Linked DNA regions of Homo sapiens: all the other regions are linked to region 2. The links are contacts of gene promoters, found by promoter capture Hi-C in blood cells and fetal thymus (Javierre and others, 2016). All regions are on one chromosome and are shown on one strand. The core of a region is centred on a gene start or on the middle of the fragment in contact, and the rest is flanking DNA. Distances in the headings are between cores, read along the strand shown.

Evidence for each region. Contacts are between HindIII fragments. The CHiCAGO score rates a contact against its expected background, and 5 or more counts as called.
Region 1: a contact is called between a fragment that was not itself captured here and the fragment with the promoter of BCORL1 in region 2, in 6 of 17 cell types (neutrophils, total B cells, activated CD4 T cells and 3 more). The highest score is 8.0, in neutrophils.
Region 3: a contact is called between a fragment that was not itself captured here and the fragment with the promoter of BCORL1 in region 2, in 6 of 17 cell types (non-activated CD4 T cells, total B cells, naive CD8 T cells and 3 more). The highest score is 7.5, in non-activated CD4 T cells.
Region 4: a contact is called between a fragment that was not itself captured here and the fragment with the promoter of BCORL1 in region 2, in 3 of 17 cell types (non-activated CD4 T cells, total B cells and activated CD4 T cells). The highest score is 6.7, in non-activated CD4 T cells.
Region 5: a contact is called between a fragment that was not itself captured here and the fragment with the promoter of BCORL1 in region 2, in 5 of 17 cell types (activated CD4 T cells, total B cells, naive CD8 T cells and 2 more). The highest score is 8.5, in activated CD4 T cells.
Region 6: a contact is called between a fragment that was not itself captured here and the fragment with the promoter of BCORL1 in region 2, in 5 of 17 cell types (total B cells, non-activated CD4 T cells, activated CD4 T cells and 2 more). The highest score is 7.3, in total B cells.
Region 7: a contact is called between a fragment that was not itself captured here and the fragment with the promoter of BCORL1 in region 2, in 6 of 17 cell types (M0 macrophages, total CD8 T cells, naive B cells and 3 more). The highest score is 6.2, in M0 macrophages.

Annotation. Positions count from the first base shown.
Region 1 is chrX:129,748,958-129,751,835 of GRCh38, reverse strand. XPNPEP2 (X-prolyl aminopeptidase 2) reads right to left here. Exons shown (of 21, transcript NM_003399.6): 8 at 1,267-1,368; 9 at 10-91. Among named protein-coding and RNA genes, the nearest start is that of XPNPEP2, 11 kb to the right of the region's middle. The HindIII fragment of the contact is 2,211 bases long and covers 145-2,355 here.
Region 2 is chrX:129,981,131-129,984,110 of GRCh38, reverse strand. It overlaps BCORL1 (BCL6 corepressor like 1), which reads right to left and starts at 1,476. Exons shown (of 14, transcript NM_001379451.1): 1 at 1,349-1,476. RefSeq lists a silencer at 411-647. The HindIII fragment of the contact is 8,398 bases long and covers 1-2,980 here.
Region 3 is chrX:129,789,779-129,792,841 of GRCh38, reverse strand. SASH3 (SAM and SH3 domain containing 3) reads right to left here. Exons shown (of 8, transcript NM_018990.4): 4 at 1,761-1,902; 5 at 366-514; 6 at 6-215. Among named protein-coding and RNA genes, the nearest start is that of SASH3, 11 kb to the right of the region's middle. The HindIII fragment of the contact is 1,276 bases long and covers 652-1,927 here.
Region 4 is chrX:129,811,011-129,814,026 of GRCh38, reverse strand. ZDHHC9 (zDHHC palmitoyltransferase 9) reads left to right here. Exons shown (of 11, transcript NM_016032.4): 7 at 302-350; 8 at 1,207-1,309; 9 at 2,518-2,621. Among named protein-coding and RNA genes, the nearest start is that of ZDHHC9, 31 kb to the left of the region's middle. The HindIII fragment of the contact is 8,924 bases long and covers 1-3,016 here.
Region 5 is chrX:130,205,745-130,208,770 of GRCh38, reverse strand. The region is part of intron 16 of ZNF280C (zinc finger protein 280C); the gene reads left to right. Among named protein-coding and RNA genes, the nearest start is that of RAB33A, 35 kb to the right of the region's middle. The HindIII fragment of the contact is 6,468 bases long and covers 1-3,026 here.
Region 6 is chrX:130,222,176-130,225,115 of GRCh38, reverse strand. All of the region lies in intron 12 of ZNF280C (zinc finger protein 280C), which reads left to right. Among named protein-coding and RNA genes, the nearest start is that of ZNF280C, 45 kb to the left of the region's middle. The HindIII fragment of the contact is 363 bases long and covers 1,238-1,600 here.
Region 7 is chrX:129,769,855-129,772,734 of GRCh38, reverse strand. No RefSeq gene overlaps it. Among named protein-coding and RNA genes, the nearest start is that of SASH3, 8.7 kb to the left of the region's middle. The HindIII fragment of the contact is 2,127 bases long and covers 378-2,504 here.

The sequences.
Region 1 (2,878 bases), core at 1-2,500, 230 kb after region 2:
AAGCCATACCTAATAGAAGAGTCTGTGAGCAGCGTGTAGGAATAGAAGAAGGGGTTATAGGGGATGTCACTGGCTCGAAGGTTGAAGAGCCCTGGGAAGAGAATTGACAAGGAATATTTAATGCTGATCTGCCTGAGGCAAGCTTTTCTTTTCCTCTTTTTTTCCTTTCCTTCCTTCCTTCTTTCCTTCCTCCCTTCCTTCCTTCCTTCCTTCCTTCCTTCCTTCCTTCCTTCCTTCCTTTCTTTCTTTCTTTCTTTCTTTCTTTCTTTCTTTCTTTCTTTCTTTCTTTCTTTCTTTCTTCCTTTCTTTCTTTTTCTTTCTTTTCTTTCTTTTTTGACAGTATCTTGCTCTGTCACCCAGGCTGGAGTGCAGTGGCAAGATCTCACTGCAATCTCCACCTCGCAGGTTCAAGCAAGTCTCCTGCCTCAGCCTCCCAGGTAGCTGGGTTTGCAGATGCCTGCCACCATGCCCAGCTAATTTTTGTATTTTTAGTAGAGACGGCGTTTCAACATGTTGGTCAGGCTGGTCTTGAACTCCTGACTTCAGGTGATCCGCCCACCTTGGCCTCCCAAAGTGCTGGGATTACAGGCGTGAGTCACCGCACCCGGCCAGAGGCAAGCATTTCTGACACTTTTGCCCCACTGTTTCCTTTGGCCTCCAAAGATTACCAACAGCATGCTTGTATCATCTACCTCTGCATGTTACTCAATCTTTTTGCCGGGGGGGGGGGGTGGGGGAGTGGGCGTCTTTGAGATGCTGTTGAGAGTTATGGATCTTTTCCCCCCAGAAAAATGCAGATACTTAGCAGTCAGCACACAGTTCCAGTGGGTCCCTGGAATATCTGAAGCCCAGCCATAGGGATCAGACAAGAAGTCCTGAGCCATGTCGGAAAGAGTAGAGTCCCACTGGGTGCTAAAGCTGGGAGTGTGAGTGCCCTGGGGTAGTGGCTAAGTTGTTGGGAGGCATTTCCTGGTCCTCCTCCCCTTAGTGGGACAGAAGCACTTTGCTGCCATAGTCAGTTCGTTCCTCTGGTGGCCTGTGGGCTGGTCCCAGCTTGCTCAGGGCTACCTTTTGTCCTTTTTCTGAAGCCATGAGCTCCTGCCCCCTTACCCTTCTTGGTTCCCACGGGCTGTGGCCATGGAGTTCTCAAGAATTGGTGGGCACATGGTTATTTGGGGAAGAGCTAGCTCTGTGCTGCAGGGCCCGGGAGGCTTGGGGCATTGGGGAGACCCAGGCGCCCACCCATGTCTGCAAATCCACACTCACAGGCCGTCTCCTCAAGCGCCGACAGAAGGACGGCAGTCGGGACCTTTTGATGCTTCTGCATCTGGCTTCGGACGCCAGATACTTTCTCCTGCCAAGTGCTCCCTAGAAGCAAAGGAGCCCCAAAAAAGTGTAAGTGACAGACCTTGCCTTTGGCACTCGGTTCCTGGAAGGTCAGCCTTAGGGTAACAGTTTTGCATCCTCTTAAAAAGCAGCGAAACCCTTTCCTCAAACAAACTCTTACTTGTGTACTCATTAATGACATGGGCCCTGGACCCAGATGGGGCTCAAATCCTGGCTTTGCCATTACTGGATGGGTGACCTTGGGCAAATTACCTAACCCCTCTGTGTTCCATTTTGCACATTTGTAAAATGGGGATGGAGTATAATAAGCATCTGCCTCAATAGGGCTGCTATGAGGATGGAATGAATTAATATTTGTAAAGCACACAGAATGGTATCTTGAGATGTAGTAACTCTTGTATCTTTCTGATTAATAAATAATCATGCAGACTGAGATCAAGAGAGCAGTCCTAGTTGAAGGACAAAGGGGTAGGGCTGGGGCCGTGTTCAACTTTCTCTGCAGTAACCCCAGTATTTACTAAGCCACGGGTACTGGGCTAAGCACTCCATGTGCATTGTTCTAATTCTTACCCATCCCATTTTACAGATAAGGAAACTGAGGCTTCAGAGAGGTAAAGTGACTTGTCTAGGGTTTCATGGATGCAAGAGGTAGAGCTGGGATTTGAACTCTGGTCTGTCTGACTGCATGGCCCACGCTCTTAATCTGTACAGACACCGTACTGTCTTGATAACATTCTCAGTCTCCAAATCTGTCCTTAAACTCTGTGTCACAGCACCGTCCTTTCTCAGATGCTTATATCTGGGTTCTATGACTTTAGTTTTCATCTTCTATCCCTGCCCCCTGCAAGATATTCAAAGAGTCTACCCCTAGGCAGGACTAGGAGTTTGCTGGCCGAAGGCCATAAACATTAAGGGTCCTAGTTGGGTTCAGATATGAGCATAAATAACTTAATGTCGTGAAAAATATTTCATGTGAACAGGTAAAACTATTCAACAATGACCAAAGCTTTGGGTACAATACATTTTTGTAGGTTTATTTTACTACATATTTTACACATAATTTATGTTATGTGTATTTTACACATAACATAAAACATATCATTTTAATCTTTTTAAAGTGCACAATTCAGTGGCTTTCAGCATACTCACAATGTTGTGCAACCATCGCCACGATCTAATTCTAGAACATTTTCTTCATCCCCAAAGGAAACCCTGTACTCACTAAGGAGTCACTCCCTATCCCCCCTCCCCTGAGCCCCAGGAAATCCCTAATCTATTTTCTGTCTCTATGGATTTGCCAGTGCTGGATATTTCATACAAATGGAATTGTACAATATGTGGCCTTCTCTGACTGGCTTCTTTCACTTGCAATTATGTTTTCAAGGTTCAGGAATATGATACCTTTCTGAGAAACCAAATGAACCCAAATTTCAATGGTCTGGTGCGTACAGGTATGTTTGAGTAGCGAACTTTTCATGTTCTGCCCTTTGCACTCTCCTTTCTCCTTTAAAATCTGCAAGTGGCTGGAAAG
Region 2 (2,980 bases), core at 227-2,726:
CCCGCCCCGCCGCCGGACTGCTCCCCCCGAAGCCCACCACTAAGCCCTCCCACTCCCCGGCCGCGATCCGCTCGAATCCAGCTCCGCTGGGCCTGCTGTCCGTCCCTCACGCCCCTTAGGACCCGGGGTGGGGGAGCCCTGGGGTTCGCGGCCATCCCTCTCCCTCCTTCTCCAAGGGCCGGGGGATTGCCCCTGATCCCGAAACCCGGCCCCGTAACCGGAGCCTCCCTCCTTCCAGCCCTCGGCTTCGCTCGCCGACCCCTTGCCTCCAGGCCTGGCGCGAAGCGGGTGGAGGGCTTGCACGCCGGATCTCCCCTCTGGCTTGCCGGTGCTAGTATGAATTGCCCCCGATCTCATCTTCCTTCAATTTAAGCCCCCTCCCCGCCGCGCCCGGCCCGGCGGCCCCCGCCCCTAGAGCGAGGGCAGCGGAGCCAGGGCGCTCCGAAGTCATCCCCCGCCTTTTTTCCAGGGACTCGGATAATTGCCCCTGCCCCCATCACAGCACTCCCACTCCCGAACCCAGGCCCCGCCGCCACCTAGGGGTACCCCTTACCCTACGATTCCCGCACCCCAGCGCCGGGAAGAAAGCAGCCCTGAAGAGCACCCGTCGCACCTCCCCTCTGAGGTTGGAGGGCATTTTCTCCCGGTCTCTTCAACACTTCATCACGGACACCCCCCCCCCCCAAAAAAAAGCCTTTTCTCGCCCTGCCCTGCTAGCCAGCCTCCCTTCGGATCGTCGGATCCTTGGATCGGGGGTTGGAGTCAGGTAGTTAACAAGACCATAGCCTCCACCTCCCTTTCCGAGGAGTGGGGTAATTCCTATGGTTTCCCCCCCAGGATCAACCGACCCCCGTTTCCATGGAGACCCCCGCCCAGCCGGGAAGAAGACTCTCTTGGATCGTGGCGAACGAGTCTCACCTGGCTAAGAGAGAAGGGGGTCGAGAAGGGGGTAGGGCAAGTCAGGGGATGGGGTACGAAGGTGGGAAGTGGAAGGGAGCTGTCCCGAAGGGAGGGGCGAAGACATACCCAGCTCCAGGGAGCGCTACGTCCGGGGACACGAAGAGGACGGCGCCCCCGGGGGGCAAGCCGAGCGGCCGCAGGGAAAAGAAGGAACAGGGTTGGAGAAAGGCTTAAGATAGAAAGAAGCGGGTGGGGGGATACGAAAAAGCCGGGGAGTCAAAAGGGGTGGAGGGATTGGGGGAGAGAGAAAAAAGACGCACCTGTTCCCGGGTCGGCTCCGCGGGGAGGCTCAGGCCGCCACCCGGGCTCCCTCTTACTCCCTCTTAACCGCCACCCGCCTAATACTGCCCCGATCTGATGCCCCCCTCCGCCCCTTATCGCCACCGACCTCCTTCTCCTCTCTCTCGGCGGCGGCGGCGGTCGGACTCTAGGAACTGAGAGGAAGAAGGGAGGGCTCAGCAAAGCGGAGGAGAGACAGAGCCACACACTGGCAGCAGCCGCGGCGAGCGAAAGAGTGAGGGGGAGAGCGGTGTGTGTGTGTGTCTGTGTGCGAGCGAAGCCTGGTGGAGTGGGTGCCGGTCGCAGGGCTCGACGGGAAGTGGAGTCCGGCTGGGTCCGCGGGCGGCGCCAACCCCCGCTCCACCGGACTACAACTCCCAGAATGCGGCCTACGCGGGTGGGGGGGAATGGGGAGGAGGAGGCGAAGGGAGGGAGCGAGCAAGAGAGGGAGGGACGAAAGCAGGGAGCAAGCGGCGGCGAAGGGGGCAGAGCCAAGCAGCCCCGGTGACACTGGGAGGGGAGGAGAGGAGGAGGGGATCGCTGAGAGGACCGAGCGGATTCCGGAGAGGGAGGCAGCAGTGGCTGCAGCAAGCCGGGCAAAAAGCTAGACTCCTGGGAGAGGCGGAGGCGCTCAATCTGCGGGGCTGCAGGAGCCCCACGTCCCCCCCCACCTCGACGCCCCTCGAAGGGGGAGGTTGAGGAAGGGAGAGGGTCAGTGAGCCGCGGCCAAAGGGTTCTCTCTCTTTCTTCCAACGTTCTCCACCTTATGCCCCGACCTGACTTTCTCAGGCCACTGGTGCCGATCCAGTGTGCAAATCTCGAGACCCCAGATCTCCTCTGCCGGGCAGCGGAGAACAGACGCATTCAGTCCCCTTCTCCCAGGGGCCTGAGGGAGGCTCCCCTTGCAGGCAGGGCGTGACTCCCCCTTCTTCCCGCTCCCCCCCCCACCGTCGTCGCCACCCCCCCATCTCCCTCCCCGGAACCCCTCCCCTGAAGCCGGGGCTCGCCTCTCTCTCTCCCCGCCAAGACACGGAGTCCTTCTGGGGACGACTACCCAGCCCCCTCCCTTATACTGGGCCCCTACCCACCAGTATCCCCTTCTTAGCGTTGCCCCCTCACCGAAATAATGGTGGGGGCGACCCGAGTTGGACTGGTGGCTACTTTCCCTCCAAGGCTAGCCGTCCTTCGCCACGCCGACCCTGTGTAGAAATAGAGAAGCATATTAATACTCCCGTCCCCCCTCCCCCCCAGATTTGAATACCCGTGGAAGTGGCTCACAAGAAAGAGGGGTTGGTAGTGGAAGTGAGCTAGGGGTGAATCCCAATCTTCAAACCTCATCCCTCCCATGGAAATCCAGGTATTCGCCTTTTGCTTAAAAGCCATTAAATCGCTTGGGTGGGGGGTAAATTATCTAAACCCCAATGTCCATGCGACTCGAAGCGACGCTACCTTGTAGGAATAAGATACGAACTAGGTTGCCGCCACGGGAAGGAAAGTATCCCCCACCCCCGTCGCCGTCCACCCCCAAAAACACATACCCCTAGGAGAGTCAGATGGCTGAAGAAGGGGGAAGGCGGTGGGAGTGCTGGAGAGTAAAAGGACTGTGGCGGGGAGGGTCCGCGGCCCCCACTACGAGAGCAGAATCCAGATGCTAAGAGGTGGGTGGGGGGTGCGGCACAATCGCAGACTGTGTCTTTCCTCGCTTTTCCCGGAATCGCCGCCCGATCACCGTCTAACACTC
Region 3 (3,063 bases), core at 40-2,539, 190 kb after region 2:
CAAACCTCCAGGCCGATGCGCTCCAGCAGCTCATGCAGGGTCTTAGGCTTGGGCCTCTTGCCCTTGCTCTGTCGGCGGCTGGGGCGGGCATGCCCCACGGCCTCCTCGGGCAGCACATCCACATAGATGAATTTGAAAGAGCCCACCTTGCCATTGAGTAGGCCCAGCCACGTGCCCACAGGTGGCTTTTCAATGATCTGGATCACATCTCCTTTCTGTTGGGGGAGAGGAGAGGAGAAGGGAGCAAGGGAGAGAGGATATGGGGGGCCTTGGCCTCCACTGACACTGTCATAGCCTGGTTCAGTCCAGCTTCCTTTTTGGGCACAGCCTGCCAGGCTCCAGAGAAGCCCGGATGCTGATCTTACCTGCAGTTTCAGCGAGTCGTGGTCATAGGGGCTGGGAGTGAAGTCGGTGTGGACTCGTGCCCGGCCACAGAAAGGCCCTGTGTACTGGGGGGCAGGTGGTTCCTCCCCGAAGCTGCCAGAACCTGGGCTGGGGCTGCAGAGCTCACTGCCTGCAGGAGATGGGGCAGGGAGGAGGCTCACCTTTGTCCTAGAACAGCTGAGACAGTGCCTAGCAGGTGCCTTCCAGGGGACCTGCCTAGAAATCCCAAGGGTATACACCGGGAAGGCAGCTGGGCTCTGGCAAGCTTTACACTGCAGAAGGGATTCTGAACCACCCCCTTGGCTACCGACCAGGAGCACGGCTTCACCTCTGGGCCCTTGGACATGAAAAGAGTTGGCAATGGGAGGAGAAATGGCTCACTGACCAAAGAATGGGCAAATTAGGAGGGCCTCTAGAGAACAACTGGGCCAACACTCCAATGAACAGATGCGGAAATCTGAGGTCACACAGACCAAGTGAACTGCTCAAGGCTTCTCATTTTATAACTGGCAGCACTGAGTCAGTCCATTAGACTCCATGTTCCCTGATACCCACTCCAACGCTCCCTCCACCCAGGAAGCTATGCCCTGCATTCATATTTGACTTTCCCTGCTTAACTCAATGTGTAGTTACAATGTCACATAGAAACTCAGTTGGGCTCCTTCTCCCTGGGAAGTACAGAGTAGTGGGCATTTTGAATGATTTTCAGTCGGGGGCAGGGAAGTGTCTGTGGAGGCAGAGAAAGCAGGAAACTTGGAGTGGACTTGAGGGGCAAGAAAGGCGGTGCTGAATGGGGCTGCAGAACCCAAAGCCCCTGCCTGGACGAGTTCCCTGCTGGCACCTCTTGTCCTGTCCCATGGACTTCTAGAAGATGCCAGGTGATGCCCTGAGCCCAGCAACTATGGTCTAGGGTCAAGAGGCTGACTCTTCACAGCTGGAGACCTCATACGCCCACCCCCGACTGGGGCATCAGAGGCCCAGGGATCTGTAGCCTCTAGCTCCCCTTGGAAAGGTGGGGACGGGCTGGTCCAAGAGGGTGACTGAGACTCTTCCTCTGCCCGTGGGCCTCTCCGGGGCCTGAGGATAGCAAGTGGAAGTTCCTCTACGGTACATCTGAGTTCAAGACTGGGTCATCTTGGGCAAGTCACTTAACCTCCCTAAGACCCTGTTTCCACATCAATAAAGCAAGGATAACAGTACTGGCCCCATGAGGTTGTTGAGAAGATTTAATGTGAAGAGGACTGAGAATGTTCCCAGCAGGCAAAGAGTAAGCATTCATTTCTCTTACCCCCCGCCCAGACAGTGTGCCACCAGCACGGCTGTAACCCAGTCCTTTCCTCCAGATTCGGCAGGTGTCCCCCGCATCCCCTACTCACCTGTTGATGCCTGGCGGCTGAGCACCGGAAGTTCATGCTCCTCTTGCTCAGAAAAGGCCAGCGCCATCTTCTCAGGGCCAGGGCTGTCCAGGCTGTAGTCTGGAGATGTCGGGGAGGCAGAGCCCTCCTCCAGAGTGTCTGCCTGCAGGGAGGGTAGGCGGGAAGCTTTAAGGAGCCTTGCTGGGGTGTGCATGAAGCTGAAGAAATGGGCCTGGGCTTAGTGAAGAGCTAGGGGCTGGCTCAAACCCCAACTCTACCACTTATAGGCTGAATGGCACTCTCTGAGCCCTAGTTTCTTCCCCTTTTGTAAAAATGAGAGTGACAGTCCTTGCCCTGGTTACCTCACAGAAACAGGTTCAACCAGGGCACCATGTGGATGTGCTTTTGTCAGCCTCAAGTGCCGATGTACATACAGAAAAGACCACGGTGGCACAACCTGGACTCAACCATTGCTACCGCACAACTGGGCAGACAATGTCGCTAGAGAGGAAACTACTTTTGCCTGTGTTTCTGTGTGCCAGGCCTGCCTGCCATTTCACTGAATCCTTACAGTGACACTTGAAGGTAAGTGGTATTGTTGGCCTGAGTTTACAAATGAGGAGTAAGGCCCAAGGGTTACTTACTCCTCATCTGTAAACTCAGGCCAAGGGAATTCAGGTTCAAGTCCCAAGGCAACCCACAACCAAGCCAGACTCCAGAGCTCCCCCTACCTCACCACACCTCAGTGAGGTGATAACTGTTTAACAGCTGGCCCTGATGAGTTGCCAATTCCTGTGTTGTAAACACTCCCCTCCACGGCCAATGTCAAGCTACCATTTTGACATCACTGGACGTGTTGTCTGAAATGAGGGTGAGGCTATTGCCACCATGAAGATGCTATGGATGCACGTAACCTCAGCAGCATTGATAAGAGTAAAAGGTAGTACAAGAATTAGGAAGTGATGAGTTTTGAAGATTTACTGTATTACCTTTGTTCGTTTTTACAAAATTTTATTTTTTTAAATTTATTTATTTAGAGACAGAGTCTCCCTATGTTGCCCAGGCTGGACTCTTACTGGGCTCAAGCAATCATCTTGCCTCGTCCTCCTGAGTAGCTGGGATTATAGGTGTACACCACCATGCCCAGTTTACCTTTTTAAAAAAATATAATTAACTGAATTGTAAGTTTCTTTAATTTGATTTTTAATAATGGTTGTGTTTAACAACTGGCTTGCACAATTTTTGACAGTTTGACCAACTGCTCTTGTGAGCTGGTATAAGCCCAGTACGAGCCAACTCCAGCACACCACTGCCTCAGTGGCTC
Region 4 (3,016 bases), core at 455-2,954, 170 kb after region 2:
TCTGTTAATATCCCCCTAACATGTCCATAGTTGGGGGCTAGGGAAAAGGGAAGGGAGCCTGCTGCTCTTCTGCCTGCCTGTCTAGTCCAGGGCCTGGTCCTGCACTGGAAATGTGAACTCTTTAGTCATGAGACTACCAGCTAGGAGATGAGGCTCTTCACCCTTGCCCGAGTGAGAGCTTAGCTCTTGCCAGTGTGTAACACGGGAGAGGGAGGGAAGGAAGTGAGTAGGCACTAGGATAGTGTGTAGTTTTGACTGAAGTCACTAATTTTTCTCTCTACTCTTCCATCCAATTTCACAGAATCTTTGAAAATTGGCTTCTTGGAGACATTGAAAGAAACTCCTGGAACATATCCTCCGCTGGCAGTATGTCCCTGTGAAGCCTTCTTAAGCTACTTTCCAGCATGCTTTTTCCCCACAGTTCTCCCACTATCTAGTTTTTCAGATATCAGAGAGTGCCAAGGTCTAAAATAATTTAAAAAAATATAGTCTTAGTGGTAGCAACCAGAATGGAAGATGACCGGGACTAAAAGGGAGGTCTTTCCTTCACCCCCTGCTCAGGACAGTGGCTGCATTTCTGCAAAGGGGGTTCAGATGAGATTTCTATAAATCACATCCTCTTTTTTTTCCCCCACCAGTTCTTCATTTATGAATTTTCTTTTTTTGAGACAGAGTCTTGTACTGTTGCCCCAGCTCGCCTCCTGGGTTCAAATGATTCTCCTGCCTCAGCCTCCCGAGTAGCTTGGACTACAGATGCCCGCCACCACGCCCAGCTAATTTTTTGTATTTTTAATAGAGACGGGGGTTTCACCATGTTGGCCAGGCTGTTCTCGAACTCCTGACCTTGTGATCCGCCCACCTTGGCCTCCCAAAGTGCCGGGATTACATGAATTTTGTTTTTTGACAGAATTTCCATTGGCAGTGATGGCCAACATTGTTTAGCTTTGGCCCCTCCCATGCATCCCCTTCCAAGAGCCAATGATGGGTAAATAGGCACACCCTTAAATACCCTAGATACGCTAGAAATTCTTTCATAAGGGATCTATCCAGTAAGTTCAGAATTCATCTATTGTTATATATGGAAACATGGCTTTTTGTGATATACGTTCCAGGAGGTAAAGATGGTCTGACTGGTGCTCTGAATATGGGCGGAGGCATCAAGTCTCCTGATGTTGAGTTCTTCAATACTCCTTAACCACACCTCACTGTTCTAGAAGTCCTCATTTGCTTCTTTACACTCTGGTCCGTCGTGGGACTGACTGGATTTCATACTTTCCTCGTGGCTCTCAACCAGACAACCAATGAAGACGTGAGTCAACTTTCTCTTCTCCTCACCACATATTCTTCTTCCCAAAGCCTATCCTCTTGCTACCTGCTAGAGAACTACCGAGTCTCCAGGGCCTGGGAGGTTGAGGCAGGCAGAAACGTGGTATGCGAGGTTGTTAAGTCAGATGTGTGGAAGAGAAAGGAGAGGGCTTTGTTGAATGCTTGTGGAGCATTAGGAAGAAGAGGTTGAAAAGTTGGGTGGGTATACAGCCTTTAACTGTTCACAGGTCCTTAAAGGCTAGCTGGTGCCTCTGTTTGGCATGGAGAGGGACAGTTGCACTGGATGAATCCTTGCTATATAAAAAGTTACCAATTAGGCTGGGTGTGGTGGCTCACGCCTGTAATCCCAGCACTTTGGGAGGCTGAGGCGGGCGGATCACCTGAAGTCAAGAGTTCAAGACCAGCCTGGCCAACATGGCAAAACCCTGTCTCTACTAAAAATACAAAAATATAGCCGGATGTGTTAGTGTGCACCTGTAGTCCCAGCTACTCGGGAGGCTGAGGCAGGAGAATCACTTGAACCCGGGAGGTGGAGGTTGCAGCGAGCAAAGATCACGCCACTGCACTCCAGCCTGGACAACAGAATGAGACTCTGTCTGGAAAAAAAAAAAAAAAGTTAGCAATTAATCTACATTCACTGTAGAAAATCAGAAAATACAGATGAGCAAAAAGAAAAAAGTAAGTTCCTCTTACTTTACTTCTTAGACATCACCTTTGTTAGTAGTATGATTTATATATTCTAGACTTGTCTAGACTTTTTTCCATGTTTATTTATGTGTTTATATTATGTACTTTTAAATAAAAATAGTATATATCATTCAGTTATCTGCTTTTTTCACTCTATTGTGAGTATTTTTCATGGCTGTGTATGTATTTCTTTTTTGTTGTGATAAAATATACATGATATAAAGTGTGCTATATTAAATGTCTTTCAACCCTGGCGATCAATGGGGTGACAGTTGTTGCAGCCAGATCGCCCTCATATCCTAAATGTACAGTTCAGTGGCATCACATTGTTGTGCAACCATTGCCACCATCCATTTCCAGAACTTTTTTATTATCCCATGCTGCATGTGTTTCTTCAACATTATTATTATTATTTTTCTTTTTTGTGTCTGTTTTTAATTTTATTATTATTATTTGTTCATTTTAACATTATTTTTAATGTCAGCCTTGGTTTTTATCTTGCAGATCAAAGGATCATGGACAGGGAAGAATCGCGTCCAGAATCCCTACAGCCATGGCAATATTGTGAAGAACTGCTGTGAAGTGCTGTGTGGCCCCTTGCCCCCCAGGTGCTCAGGGCACTCAAAAGTCCTGGGACTGTTGGGATGAGCAGCTCAACCTGATCCTGTTACCTTGTCTGATGTGTTTTTCTGAGTGTGGCCTCTTGGTGTCAAATAGGTCTTTCCAGGGCTTGCCACTTGGTACCATGTCTACATGGACCATAGACCATGGGCTGGTTGTTTTGGAGGGATGATCTTTCATTCTTAATTTCATTTGTTTGTTCCCTGGTTAATGTGACATTTCCTGGTTTGTGGAAGAAAAAGTGAATGGGAGATAAGAGGCATGTGCTGTGTTCAGGCTAGATTGCCAAAGGACAGGTTTATATTTTCCAGTCTATGCAGCAAAATTCCGTAGGCCAGGTGGGTGGAGGGGTGAATGCCCAGTTCTTTGTTAACTCTCTTAT
Region 5 (3,026 bases), core at 27-2,526, 220 kb before region 2:
TGAGCCGAGATTGCACCACTTAACTCCAGCCTGTGCAAAAGAGCAAAACTCCATCTAAAAAAAAAAAAAAAAATTATGCTATTTTTAAAGCATTGAATTCGAGGAATTAGAAAAGAGTAAAATATATTAGGTGTTACCTTTACTGAAAAATGCTTATAAGAATGAAAAGAGATTTAATTCTAAAGATGAGACTTCGATTTGATTTTTACCACATTATGGTCAAGCTCAATTGTATGCTTGGTTTTTAAATTAACTGTATGATTTGAAAGATCTGAGGTGCTTTTTTTTCAACTTGAGTGGATCTCACATCTGAATAGAAAATTGATCAAATTCTGTGTATGGGTCGGGTGCAGTGGCTCACACCTGTAATCCCAGCACTTTGGGAGGCCAAGGCGGGTGGATCACTTGAGGCCAGGAGTTCAGGACCAGCCTGGCCAACATGGTGAAACCCCGTCTCTACTAAAAATACAAAAATTCGCCGGGCGTGGTGGCGCATGCCTGTCATCCCAGCTACTCAGGAGGCTGAGGCACGAGAATTGCTTGAACCTGGAAGGCGGAGGTTGCAGTGAGCCAAGATTGCGCCACTATACCCCAGCATGGGCCACAGTGAGACTCGGTCTCAAAAAATTTTTTTAAAAAAATCTGTGTATGGACATAGCATTTTGTATTTCTATAAACAATTTTTTCATAATTACTATTTTGTTAAAATGAAATATTCTTTAGCTATTTATTGTGTACCTATCATGTATAATACAGCGTAGGAAGTCCTATACAGATGACCGTGATGAAGAAGGCTTGTACCAACCTTCAAGGAATGTACAATTTATTAAAGGGGTATGGATATAAGGTGTGAACATAAATAACTACAGTAATTCAAAGAGGTTTCTAGTAAGTGCAGTGAGAGATACAGATTTCAAAGGGGAGAAAGGTTTCTACTTACAAGAAGAGGCACAAGGGCATTCTAGTTGGAAGAAATAACATGAATAAAAGTTCAGAAAGGAAAATGCAGAAACTATACACATTCTCCGGAATGACAATGAATAACTAGGAGTAAAATTTGGATGAAGCACAAAGTTCATATAGCATAGTATTATATTAAGATCAAAGTTGGCCGGGCACGGTGACTCATGCCTGTAATCCCAGCACTTTGGGCAGCTGAGGTGGGTGGATCACCTGAGGTCAGGAGTTTAAGACCAACCTGGCCAACATGGCAAAACCCCATCTCTACTAAAAATGCAAAAAAAATTAGCCGGGCATGGTGGTGTGCGCCTGTAATCGCAGCTACTCAGAGGCTGAGGCAAGAGAATCACTTGAACCCGGGAGGTGGAGGTTACAGTGAGCCGAGATCGCGCCACTGCACTCCAGCCTGGGTGACAGAGTGGGACTCCATTCCAAAAATAAAAAAAGATCAGTCTGGGGAGATAGTTTTGAACTTAGATGCAGATTGTTGAATCCTTGAAAACAAGGCTGGGGAGTTTGGGCTTAATTTTCATTTGGAAGACATTGGGGAAGCCATTGATGTTTTGAGTAGAATCAAGGGTGCTGAAGGAAGATCACTTTGGAGGAGTATACAGGATGAGTTGTAGCTGCATGAGACACATAGGCTGGTTAAGGCTATTGTAGTGGTTAAGACTTACTTAATAATGCCCTGGGCTGAGGTGGTGGGGTGGTATCACATCATATTTAAGAGCATGGGCTTCAGAATCAAAGGGCTCCATTTCCAACCTGATCCTGGCCTCAGTAGATTACTGAAACTAATTCTGTCCTCTGTAAAAAGGTAATAATTGTAGCACCTATCTCTTTGGGTTGCCATAAGATTTAGATCAGGCAATAATGTCTAAAACCCTCAGACTGGCATAGAGTAAGTACTCGATAAATCGTTAACATCATAAAACGTTTGAAATATTGAATGTTTTACGTAAGAAGAAAGTCAGAGATAACTACAAATTTGAGCCTCAGTATTAGGGAAATGGCATCATAAAAGAGACTTTCCCCCTAAATTTCATGGGGAAAGCACATGATTCCAGTTTTATGAAGATAATTTTTGATGTGCAGGAGTTCTGGCTAGGTGTAAATCCACAACAGGTTGTTAAAACTAGAGAAGTAGCCAGGCACGGTGGCTTACGCCTATAATCCCAGCACTTTGGGAGGCCGAGGCGGGTGGATCACGAGGTCAGGAGATTGAGACCATCCTGGCTAACACAGTGAAACCCTGTCTACTAAAAAATACAAAAAAATTAGCCAGGCGTGGTGGCAGGCGCCTGTAGTCCCAGCTACTTGGAAGGCTGAGGCAGGAGAATGGCATGAACCCGGGAGGCGGAGCTTGCAGTGAGCCAAGATTGTGCCACTGCACTCCAGCCTGGACAACAGAGCCAGACTCCGTCTCAAAAAAAAAAAAAAAAAAAAAAACTAAAGAAGTCAATCCAAGGTATGCACTGGTTTCCTATAGAGGTGAAATATTTAAGTTTAAAGTATCTGATGAACTTCAAAAGTATATGTATGCTTTGTTAATAAACTGATAATTACAGGATTTTAAAACCTTCACATTTCTTTTCTAATTTTATCCTCATTTGACTAAGATACTAGATTGCAGAATCCACACACTGTACCTTTTTTGTTTACTGTTATATCTACAATACCTAGTAGTACAGTGTGGGTGAAGAAGGTTGTCAGCAAATGAATATTTATATATTTCAGTGAATGAATATTATATCCTTGCTTTGTAAGTAATAACTTGCACACATTACTTAAGTTGTTAAGGGAGACTTGGCTTTGAGTCTCTTGATGCCTAGCTTTCAGCAACAAGTTGAGAGGTGACAATTTATAAAGCACTAAATGTTAGCGTAATTTGAATATGGCGATGCCATTTTCTTTTCCTTTTTTTTTTTTTTTTTTAACATAGTCTCGCAGCTGGAGTGCAGTGGCACAATCTTGGCTCACTGCAACCTCCGCCTCCTGGGTTCAAGCAATTCTCCTGTCTCAGCCTCCCAAGTAGCTGAGAGTAGCTGGGGCTACAGACTCACGCC
Region 6 (2,940 bases), core at 170-2,669, 240 kb before region 2:
CTTATAAGTGGTTTATCTGATCTGTAGTCATTCTTCATATCCTAAGTTGTATGCCTTAACTTGCTGTATGTATTGGAAAGAGTTACCCAACAGGTCTGAGTTGCTCAAATATTGCACAATTTCAGAAGTGCCTGCTTGTATAACTGGCCCTTGGCTAAATCTTGGAAATTGAGCTTCTAAAATGTTCTCTATGTTATTAACTGATAAGAGTGGTTTACATGCCTGGAACCTTGAGCCATGTTGTACCAGTTAGTCAAGAAAATTCGCACAAAAAAATACGGTTATGGTGACCACCTGCTTTTCTTGCAGTGGGAGGAGTCGTCTGAAAATTTGGTGGCTTACCTCCATAAAAAACCTAAGCTCTTAGACTCAAGAGAGCTTTCCCATCAAGCAACACTTTATACGTGTTGCTGCAGTTCATTGCTGAGGGATTTTATACATGTTGCTGCAGTTCATTGCTGAGGGATTAAGTGTGTCCTATGTGACTCCATTGGAATAGAGCTCTTAGAAGTTGGCGCCTGGTAATCCTCTAGAAGCTATCCAGTACACCATTTTCCTTTATTAATCCTGCTCTGTACCCTTACACTGTAATAAAACATAGCTGTGAGTATAACACTAAGTCCTATCGATCCTTCTGCTGAATCATCACATCTGGGAGTAGTCTGAGGGACCACTGAGGTGCCACAGGTGCTGTCTTAGTCTGTTTGAGCTACTATAACATGCTATTATACCATTGACTGGGAAGCTTAAACAACAAGCACTTATTTCTCTCTGTTATGGAGGCTGTAAAGTCCAAGATCAGGGCACCAGTGGTTCAGTGTCTGGTGAGGACCTGCTTCCTTGTTCATAGATGGCCATATTCTCACTGTGTCTTCACATGGGGGAAGGGGTGGAGAGGGCTCTCTAGGGTCCCTTTTATAAGGACACTAATCCCATTTATGACAGCTCCACCATCATAATCTAATTAGTTTCCGAAGGCTCCACCTCCCAATACTATTACATTGAAAATTAGGATTTCGCCATATGAATTGGGGGGCGGAGGGGACACAGGCATTCAGTCCATTTCAGGTGCTGAATTTTTTTGTTAAGTTTGGAGTACCTGAAGAGTAAACAGTCAGCAGTGAAGAGGTAAGATTCTATTGATAAGAAGGATCATCAGGCTTCTCTGAAGGTATTTGCAGTTTGCATAATTATTCACAAAAGACTCAAAAACCTGAGCTGACCAATATTATAAGCTTATAATTTAGATGGCATTAGTGCAATTTTATGTAATAAGAATTATTGACTCTATGGTTTATTTTATTCTTTTTGAAAACTTTGATTGCAACTTTTTCCTAAAAATAATATATTATTATGTCTTGAGTGATTTTGGAGTTAGCAATGCAGTTTATACATTTTTTAACAAAGGACGAAAGACTCCACATGTGTTAAATATCCTCATTAGCTCTTTAATAACAACAATAAGCAGTTAACATATAATAATCACTTACCATTTGACAGCCACTGGTGCTTTTACATGCATTATCTTGTTTAATCTTCACAGCCACCCTATGAGGCAGGTATATGATTGTTTTCATTTTATAGATGAGGAAACAAAGCTTTATAGAAAGTAATTTGCCCAGTGTCACATTCCCTAACAAATGGCAGAGCCCAAAATTGATTTATAGCCCAAGCTTCCACCGCAGACTCATATTCCACATTGACATTAGGTCTAAAGGCAGAAATTACAGATAGTTACCCTTGAAAATCCCTCAAATTGGCCAGGTGCAGTGGCTCATGCCTGTAATCCCAGCACTTTGGGAGGCCAAGGCAGGCGGATCACCTGAGGCCAGGAGTTTGAGACTAGCCTGGCCAACATGGTGAAACCCTGTCTCTACTAAAAATAAAAAAAATTAGCTGGGTGTGGTGGTGCATGCCTGTAATCCCAGCTACTCGTAGGCTGAGGGGGGAGAATCACATGAACCCGGGAGGCAGAGGTTGCAGTGAGCCAAGATCATGCCACTCCAGCCTGGGAGACAGAGCAAGACTCCGTCTCAAAAGAAAAAAAAATTCCTCATATAACCCAAAAACCATATAGTATGCATGTCAAGAAGTTCAACACTTAACTTTTTCTCTACCCTTGGAACAAGTTACTGTTTCTTTGGTTAAACATTATTTTAAAAATGTATTAGTTGGGCACAGTGGCTCATGCCTGTAATCCCAGCTCTTTGGGAGACCGAGGAGGGTGGATCACTGGAGGTCAGGAGTTCGAGACCAGCCCTGCCCCATCTCTAAAAATACAAAATTAGCCAGGTGTGGTGGCAGGTGCCTGTAATCCCAGCTAGTTGGGAGGCTGAGGCAGGAGAACTGCTTGAACCCAGGAGACGGAGGTTGCAGTGAGCCGAGGTTGTGCCATTGCACTCCAGCCTGGGCAACAAAAGCAAAACTGTATCTCAAAAAACAAAAAAAAGTATCATCTGTGATCATTAGCACAATGCAAGCATACATACATAAGAGGGATATCCAGGACTTGAGTCCAACTAAGGGAATAGTAGATTAATGTCTCCCATCTTGGGGCTCTGGACAAGTAAATACTCATTGAATGAAATGGCAGACACTTTGAACTAGTTAAATTGTGCCTGCTGCTCATTTGTACTCTGTCAGTCTCTTGCCTCACTTTATTTCTTTATTTAAGAAATATTTGAGTGCCTAATATATGCCAAGGACTGTTTTAGGTACTGGGGATACAGAAGTAAGCAAAGCAAGGTTTGTACTCACTGAAATAATGCATCATGGTAGAGAAGGGTGTGTGTGTGTGTGTGTGTGTGTGTGTGTGTGTGTGTGTGTGTGTGTGTGTGTGGTGTCTGAATGTATATGTATGCCAGCTGATGGTAAGTACCATGGGAAGAAAATATAGGTAGATAGAGAGTGCCAGGGCTCAGGTGAAGGAGTGGTTTCTGT
Region 7 (2,880 bases), core at 192-2,691, 210 kb after region 2:
TGTCTCACACCTGTAATCCCAGCACTTTGGGAGGCCAAGGCAGGAGGATTGCTTGAGGCCAGAAATTTGAGACCAGCCTAGGCAACATAGACATCATCTCTATAAAATAAAAATTAAAAAAAAAATTAATCGGGCATGGCGGTGCATGCCTGTAGTCCTAGCTAATCAGGAGGCTGAGGCGGGAGAAGCACTTGAGCCCAGGATTTCAAGGTTACGGTGAGCTATGATGGTGCCATTGCTCTCCAGCCTGGGTGACAGAGCAAGACCCTCTCTCTAAAAAAAAAAACAAAAAACAAAAGGAGCTATTTAGATGATTTGTGTATGTACCTATCTACCTATCATCTTACCTATGCCCTTTTCTATTCAGATTTGAAGCTTGAAGGAACGTGGCTCAACACCGCCGTCACCATTGTTGTCACAGCTGTGTGACCTTCAACAGGTCTCCTTGGGCCTCAGTGGGTCATTAGAGGCAGTAAGGGAGTGACAGAAGCACACACTGAAAGCGAGAGCGGAGCCATTGTGGAGCTGAGTCAGTATGCTGCGGATTTAGTCCTTGCTCTGGCCCCACTGGACTGTGTGACCTTGGACAAGTCCCTTCCTCTTCCTGGGTTGCTGTTGAAGTTTTCCCATCTGTACACTGAAAGGACTGCACCAGGTTTTGTGTGTGTGTGTGTGTGTGTGTGTGTGTGTGTGTGTGTGTGTGTGTGTTTGGTCATGGAGCTCCTATTCAGGATTGGCTCTTGAATTTTGCGGGCCTTGTGCAAAATGAAAATGCCCGGTGCCTCTTGCTTAAAAATTATCAAGAATTTTGAGACAGTGACAGGCGAGCATTAAACCAAGCATGGGGCCCTTGTAAGCACAAAGTCTTGAGGGACTGCACAGGTCCTACACCCGTGAAGCTGGCCCTGCAACTACTTCAAGTACAATTTTACGGGAAGCCCGTCAGGGCTACTTCGTGCAGCAGCTCTGTTTTCCTCGACAGCCCCTGTGGTGTTTCTGAGGCATCTCAGGCTCCCGGGAGCATAGTTGGAAAGACGTAAATTAGATGTTTGCTCTAGAGCCTTTCTAATTTTGGCTATTTATATATAAAACTTGGGTTCCAGACCTTTTTCTTACCTACCTGCAAAGGTGAAGCTGAATTGAACTTGTGCTGGGCAAATAACAGCAATATCATTTCTTGTCTGTGTGGCTTCCTGGTTTAGAGTGCTGCCACATCCGGGTCTCATGAGCCTCTCGCTGTAACCTCACCAAGAAGGCAGCATGGGAGATTCCAGAAAGGATAACTGAAGACCAGGGAGAAGTGACTTGCCCAAGGCCACACAGCTGGCACAAATGGGACTCAAACCCCAGAATCTTAACTCCTAGGAAAAGGGGCTTTTCCACATGGCCGGCTCCCCAGGCAATCAGCAGGCGAGGAGAGGTTTGCTAAGCCCCATCCTCCAACATTAAAACAAAGTACTAGAGCCCAAGGGGACAGTTCCTAACAATCTTTCATTCCTAACGATGTCACAAGAGTCCCTGTGTATCAGCCCTGGTGTATGTGCCCTGTTTCCCTGCCTGACCCAGAGTTAATCCCTTAAAGCAGGAATGGTCAAGTCTGGCCATCTGGGTCCCAGGGGAGGGAAGAGCTGGGGTGACTGTGAGCCCTCGTTCCAGCCACGTTCCAGGGCTGGGTTCTTCCTCCCAGAATGGTAGGCTGGAAGGGGCAGTTAAGGGGATTCAGAGATGAGGTGGAGTCCTGGGTCTCGCACTGAGGAAAAAAGCACGAGCTGCCTCGGTCCGAAAGGCCTGTGTGAGGGTGTTGGTCAGGTGCCTGGTCTTGCCACCCATGACCTGCCAGAACCCCAGGAGCAAGTGTCAGGGTGCAAAGGCAAAGGTCTGGCAGGGTCTGGGGAGGCACTATGGTGTGGATCTGCTTCTCCTGCTTGAGCCTCAGTTTTCTTGTCAGTAAAATGATGAAAGCCATACCACTTGCCCTTTATTTTTCTTTATTTTATTATTATTATTATTTTTTGAGATGGAGTCTCGCTCTGTTGCCCAGGCTGGAGTGCAGTGGCACGATCTCAGCTCACTGCAACCTCCGCCTCCTGGGTTCAAACGATTCTCCTGCATCAGCCTCCCGAGTAGCTGGGACTATAGGTGTGCGCCACCACACCCAGCTAATTTTTGTATTTTCAGTAGAGATGGGGTTTCACCATGTTGCCCAGGCTGCTCTTGAAATCCTGGCCTCATGTGATCCTCCCACCTCGGCCTCCCAAAGTGCTGTGATTACAGGGGTGAGCCACCACACCCGGCCAGGACTTGCCCTTTCTTGAGAGTGGATTCTAGAGTCCTCTGACTGGTTTAAATCTGGCTTTTTTTCATTTACCCAATGAAAAAAGTGACTTTGAGTCACTTGATAAATCTCTATGGGCCTCACTGAGTTCCTGCACTTGTAAAATGGGAATAAGAAAAGGGCCTTCTCAGAGGTTGTGAGGATTAAATGAGAAAATGCATGTAAAGCTTCTTGCACGGTGGCACATAAACACTCAGTAAATGGCAGCCATGATGATGATGATGGTGATGATGATGAGGGTGATGATGACTTTAATTTTATTAGTAGTACCTGTCTTTGTGGGGTGAGCAGGTGAGGGAGCAAATTATTTAGCAAACAGAGGCCCATCTTTGGATACTCAGTAAGGCTTGGTCAGGGCTGGAGCCTCTGGATGCAAGCACTGGTGATGGTAACCATCACAGGTCACCCTCACACTCAGCAGACTAGGCCTGATGGTTTCAGGCCAGGAGACTTCTCTGCCTGGTGCCTTTGCCTGGCACCCTGCACCTTGGTTCTTTCCTTCCACCAACTGTGCGCTGCTTGGCAAAGGTGCCAGCCCCAACTTT